Linked DNA regions of Homo sapiens: region 1 is linked to region 2. The links are contacts of gene promoters, found by promoter capture Hi-C in blood cells and fetal thymus (Javierre and others, 2016). All regions are on one chromosome and are shown on one strand. Each heading gives the region's core, a stretch centred on a gene start or on the middle of the fragment in contact. The rest is flanking DNA. Distances are from core to core; before and after follow the strand shown. Region 1 has its middle 42 kb from the start of ONECUT1. Region 2 holds the start of MYO5C (myosin VC).

Region 1 (2,806 bases), core at 196-2,695, 450 kb after region 2:
TGCAAGAAGCTGCCTTTTCTTTTGTTCCTAAGCAGATAGCTACAGATAAAAGGTCAAATATCTTCACAGGTAGCTACTCTATGTTCACGTTATCTTATATAATGTGCTGATTTACTGAGAGTGAGAGGAATATATAATTGACTCTTCCCCTACTGCTCGTTTTCCCTTGCAACATGTGGATGACCATGCCTTCCCTCTTTCCCCTCCAGTCCACTCTGCCCCTTTAAATATTGAAGTGCTCAAATTCATCTTTGGAGAAAGGCACAGACCACAGACTGTTTCTGTGATTCTGTGTTTTTTTCTTCCAGGGAAGTCCTTAAACTTGGCCAAATAAATGTCTAAATTGATCAAGACCTGTCTCAGATACTTTTTGCTTTACCCCATTGAGGGCTTTGAAAAGTTTCAATATATTCCTGAGAATCTGGACTGCTCTGCACACCCGTGTGAGATATTCTCCTTTATTTAAAGTGAGCTGATTATGAACAGCAATCACATCCACAAAATACCTTCATGGCAACACCTAGTGTTTGAATGAGTAACTGGGGACCAGAGACTAGTCAAGTTGACACATAAAACTGATCATCACAAGAGAGAACAGAGCTATATAGGAACAAAATGTTTATATAGTATTGAAATTGATATTAATCATCCTTGGGGCAGAGCTCAGCATACCTCCCACCATCCCACTGGTATGCCCCAAAGCCCACTCATGACTATACATGTGAAAGTATTGAGAGATAAATGGGCATGATATATGCAACCTATTCTCCCAAGGTTCCAGGAAAATAATTATGTAAACATATACACAGAGAATGATAAAGCAAATGTGACAAAATATAAAGCATTGTTAAATCTGGCTAATAGGTACATAAGAATTCCTTATGCATCCTTGCAACTTTTCTGTGAGTTTGAAATTATTTCAGAATAAAACTTTTTAGAAAATGTCCACAAAAAGCTTTGTAGAAGAACATTAATATCACCTTCATTAAAAATAGCCAAGGCTGGGTACAGCGGCTCATGCTTATAACGCCAGCTCTTTGGGAGGCCAGGAGTTCAGGAACAGCCTGGGCAACGTGGCAAGAACCTGTCTCTACAAAAACAAAACAAAACAAACAAACCAACAAAAAAACCCCACACACAAAAATTAGTGGGGTATGGTGGCATGTGCCTGTATTTGCAGCTACTTGGAAGGCTGAGGCAGGAGGATCACGTTAGCCCAGGAGGTCCAGGTTGCAGTGAGCGGTGATTATGCCGCTGCACTCCAGCCTGGGTGACACAAGGAGACCCTATCTCAAAATAAATAAATAAATAAATAAAAATTTAAAAAGGGAGATCAGTCTTACCCCTATATTTAAAAAATGAAAAACCTTAGAAAATAGTTTTTTTGTTTGTCTACTTCTTTGTTTTGAGACGGAGTCTCACTCTGTCGCCAGGCTGGAGTGCAGTGACACGATCTTGGCTCATTGCAACCTCCACCTCCCGGGTTCAAGTGGTTCTGCTGCCTCAGCCTCCTGAGTAGCTGGGACTACAGGCATGCATCACCACGCCCAGCTAATGTTTTTTCTATTTTTAGTAGAGATGTGGTTTCACCATGTTGGCTGGGATGGTCTTGATCTCTTGACCTCATGATCCGCCCACCTTGGCCTCCCAAAGTGCTGGGATTACAGGTGTGAGCCACCGCGCCCGGACAAAAATAGTTTTTTTAACTGGAAAAAATCTGCATTTTAAGATATTTGCTGAGCCTGTAATCCCAGCTACTAGGAAGGCTGAAGCCCAGGAGGATCGCTTGAGCCTAGGAGTTTGACGCTAGCCTGGGTAACGTGGCAAGACCCTGTCTCTAAATCAATCAATCAATCTGTCTATCTATCATCTATCTAATTTGCTGATAATAAATATAGCTAAGATTTATGGAGGATTTATATGCCGGACACTGGGCTAAGCTTTACCTACTTCTAGTGTCTAATCCTCACAACCACGCTATAATGTAGATACTTATGCCTATTTTACAGATGAGGAAACAGACTGAGGGAAGTTAAGTAATTTGCCTAAGGTCTCACAATTAGTAATCAGCACAGCAGGAAAGCCAAACTGTGTTTCCCGAGCCAGGCCTCTTGATCGGTTACTACATTGTATTAAAGAGGACCTTAATTTCCCTGCCCCCCAGCTTCTGACACACACAACTGCCTACACAAGTTATTTTACTGGAGAGGGCTTTTAAGGACCATCCTCTCTAATAATAATTTTTACTTCTTCTGAGAGTCAATCAGGTTAATATAAATGGCTAATCTCTAGAAATAGAATGTTCCACTTTCATTTAAAAGCATTATTTTGCTCCACTAGAGAACATCTCTTTATTTCCCTGCATTAATCTTTCTTTGACCATGGCACTGGCTTTTGTTTTCAAGCGTGTTGTCCTCTCCGTTTCACCCTTCCTCCAAAGAAACTCGATGAGCTACTTGCTTAGGATTTCAGGTAGAATAAAAACAAAAGAAGGCAAGGATTGTCTAAATTTAAAGTGCTGGAAAATCCAACATTTTATTTACTACATTTTGGTGACTACATAAATGCTGAAACATTTTAACACTGAAAAGCATGATGGCATCATCACTTGCTTTTTTTTTTTTTTTTTTTTCTTTTTTGCTTAGCAAACACAGCAGATGATATTGCACGGCATAAAGTGAGAACAGTAGCGAAGCTTAAAATAAATGAAAGAAACCTTAATGCAGTACAGGAGATACTCAGAAACAAACCAGAATAATGCCTAATGCATTACACGTTTTTGTTGCTACACACAAAAATACAGAAG
Region 2 (2,847 bases), core at 281-2,780:
AGACTTTTCTTTCACTTCCAGTAAACTGAAGGCTGAAGAAGCGCTGTTGGCTGTCTGAGGGCTCACAGTCTCACTGGTGAAAATATTCTAGAACAAAACTAGGGCAATTCAAACACTGTCCATTTAGAACTCCAGTTAATGGAGATGCAATAGAGGAGAAACTACAGTTCGGTTGCTTTGTGTCCGGACTGTTACTAAGTAATCAAAGTAGAAGAAAAACGTTTGCTTAAACCATTGAAACATGATTTTTTAAATAACTATCTTTTCTATCTACAGCAAAAGCATCTTTTAAAGTAGAAAGCTAGAGCATGTGTCCGGGGAAATGGATGGATTCTAGTTCCACTCGTCTGAATACTGAGGTCTCTAGATTTCCCCAACTGGTGTATAGGAGGATCAGGCTTTATGGCTATTCAAATGGATTTTTTTTTTCAAAAGTGCTAACACTGTCACACTCTTTATCCAAATAATTACCCAAGCCCATCTCAGAGGGTTTGGGACATATGTGGGAACGCTGCCCTTCCGAGGTAAGAGGTGGAGCCCCAGCCAGCAGAAAGGAAGCTTCTGAGGAATGCTCTAGTGTTTCCCAGAGTCAGGGTATATGAAAGGCGCTTTAGAAACTGTGGTGTTTGTACTGTTGCTAACAGTACAGATGTTAGGCAAAGAGCCTACGACTGCACCTCGTGGCCCCTGGGCTCCCCAAGCGCTTGGTGCCACTGCAGTGCCCTCAAGCCTGTGACCCAGGCTGCTTCAGCTTCTGATGAGCCTACATGCACGTTCACGCACTTTGAAGACACAGAATTCTAGAAAGCAGCCCGAACACTGCGGCCATAAGCTTCTATGCCAGCTCGTTCAAGGGGGTCCCAGGAGGGGCCAGGAGACTGGCCGGCGTCTCAGCTTCCTACGTCCGCATGGGCAACTCTGATTCCACCCGTGGTGTGGTAGGAAGGGACCGAGGCGCTCCAGTCCCGGGAGATGGGGACGCACGCGCGACCCCTGGGCACTGGGGATTCTAGGCCCCGAGGCCGGAGCGGCGGAGGGGGCGGCCCCTCCCACAGGGTCTTCCCACCCACAGGGCACCCAGGCGCAGCGGAGCCAGGAGGGGGCTTACCCGCGGGCAGGGACGGAGCACGCCGGGGCCCTGGAGGGGCGACGCTCGCTCGTGTCCCCGGTCCCCGTGGCCCCTCCGCGGCGCCTCCGCGGCCCCCAGCGCGCGCCCGCCCGCCCTGCCGTGTCAGGTGCGCAGGTGTGGCAGGTGTGGCCCGGGCGCCAGGTCGAGTCAGCGTTAGCAGGGCCGGCTCCCCCACAGCGCTCCCAGGAGCCCAGCGGACCCTCCTACCTGCGTGTACAGCTCGGCCACCGCCATGGGCAGGAGGGGCCGGGGCCAGGCCGGGGCTGCCGAACGTGCGAGGCTCGGGGGCTGGGCCTGCGCCGCAGAGGCCGGGCGCAGGAGAGACCGCCGCGGAAATCACCGCCGGGCCATCTTGCCCAAAGTTTTCCAACGGCCTCCTGTTCCCGTTCCCGAGTTGGCGGCGAGGGGAGGGGGCAGCGGCGGGATTGGTCCCTCCAAGCTTGGCCCGGCTAGTCGGCGCTGCCATTGGCCGGGGCCGGGCGGCTGCACCTGGCGGGAGCGCGGGTGGAGAAGGTTGGGGCCCGGGGCGCGCTGCCAGGCAGGAACAGATGCATCCGGAGGCTGCCCGGCCCGAGTGTTAGCTCCTCAAAGAGCAGAGGATACGACCATTTAAATGGAAGACCCAAGGGAATCAACGTACTGAACACAAAGAAATGTGTTAAGAGTCCAGCAAGGTCATCGTATTCAAAATCAAATACAAAAATAAGTAATGGTCCTTTATATGAGCATTGTCTATGCAATACAAGATATTTACAATATTAGTGAAAATATAAAGTATCCAGAGATTACACTCGCAAAAATGCCCTTGGCCTTTGTGGAGAAAATGTTTAAAATTCTCTTAAAGAGCTTAAAAGAAGGCCCAGGTAAACGGGAGACATGCCATTTTCCTGGCTGGGAATATTTAATATGGTCAAGGTGTCACTTCTACCCAAATCAATATATATGCCTAATATATTGGCGTCAGAATCCTACAGAACTTTTGGAGAATTGTACAATGATTCTATATTTCATATAGAATAAAAGCCCTGTATAACTAAGACAATTCTCAAAGAGGAGAGATTTGTCCTGCCATATATTTAGGGACATAACAAAGCAGTAGTCATTAAAACAGTGTGACACTTGCGTGAGAACGGATACGTGAGTAATGGAACATGCTGGAGCCCCCCAGCAGGGCCCTACATTATACGGTAGCCTTAAGGACCAGATAGGGAAATAAAATAATATTTATTAGATGGGCCCGTTATATGGAAAAACAATAAAAGCAGATCCGTGGCAAACACTGCATCCAAAAATAAGCTCCAGATGGATTCACGATTAAAACTTAAAACCGGGAAATTATTAGGAATAAAAGAGGGATAATATCTTTAAAATGTTGGGTTATAGTAGTTTCCATATAGAAGAATTGTTAATCGGTTAAAGAAAAGAAATCCAATTTTTAAAACTGACAAAAATTAATAGGCAATTCACAGATGGGGACACTTAAATGGCTTGTTAGCATACAAGGAGATGTCAACTTTAGCAGTAATCAGATAAATACAAATGAAAACAACAATGAGATATTGCTTTTTACCCATCATATTGGCAAAAACATTTAGGTTAGACAATCTCAGATACTGCCTAGGATGTGAGAAAATAAAAACTTGGCCGGGCGCGGTGGCTCACGCCTGTAATCCCAGCACTTTGGGAGGCCGAGGCGGGCGGATCACGAGGTCAGGAGA

What was found. Contacts are between HindIII fragments. The CHiCAGO score rates a contact against its expected background, and 5 or more counts as called.
Region 1: a contact is called between a fragment that was not itself captured here and the fragment with the promoter of MYO5C in region 2, in 1 of 17 cell types (naive CD4 T cells). The highest score is 5.8, in naive CD4 T cells.

What each region holds. Positions count from the first base shown.
Region 1 is chr15:52,747,394-52,750,199 of GRCh38, forward strand. No RefSeq gene overlaps it. Among named protein-coding and RNA genes, the nearest start is that of ONECUT1, 42 kb to the right of the region's middle. The HindIII fragment of the contact is 985 bases long and covers 954-1,938 here.
Region 2 is chr15:52,294,274-52,297,120 of GRCh38, forward strand. It overlaps MYO5C (myosin VC), which reads right to left and starts at 1,531. Exons shown (of 41, transcript NM_018728.4): 1 at 1,337-1,531. The coding sequence starts at 1,363. LOC105370819 (a long non-coding RNA gene) reads left to right here and starts at 611. Exons shown (of 4, transcript XR_932250.3): 1 at 611-938. RefSeq lists a silencer at 1,195-1,354. The HindIII fragment of the contact is 736 bases long and covers 831-1,566 here.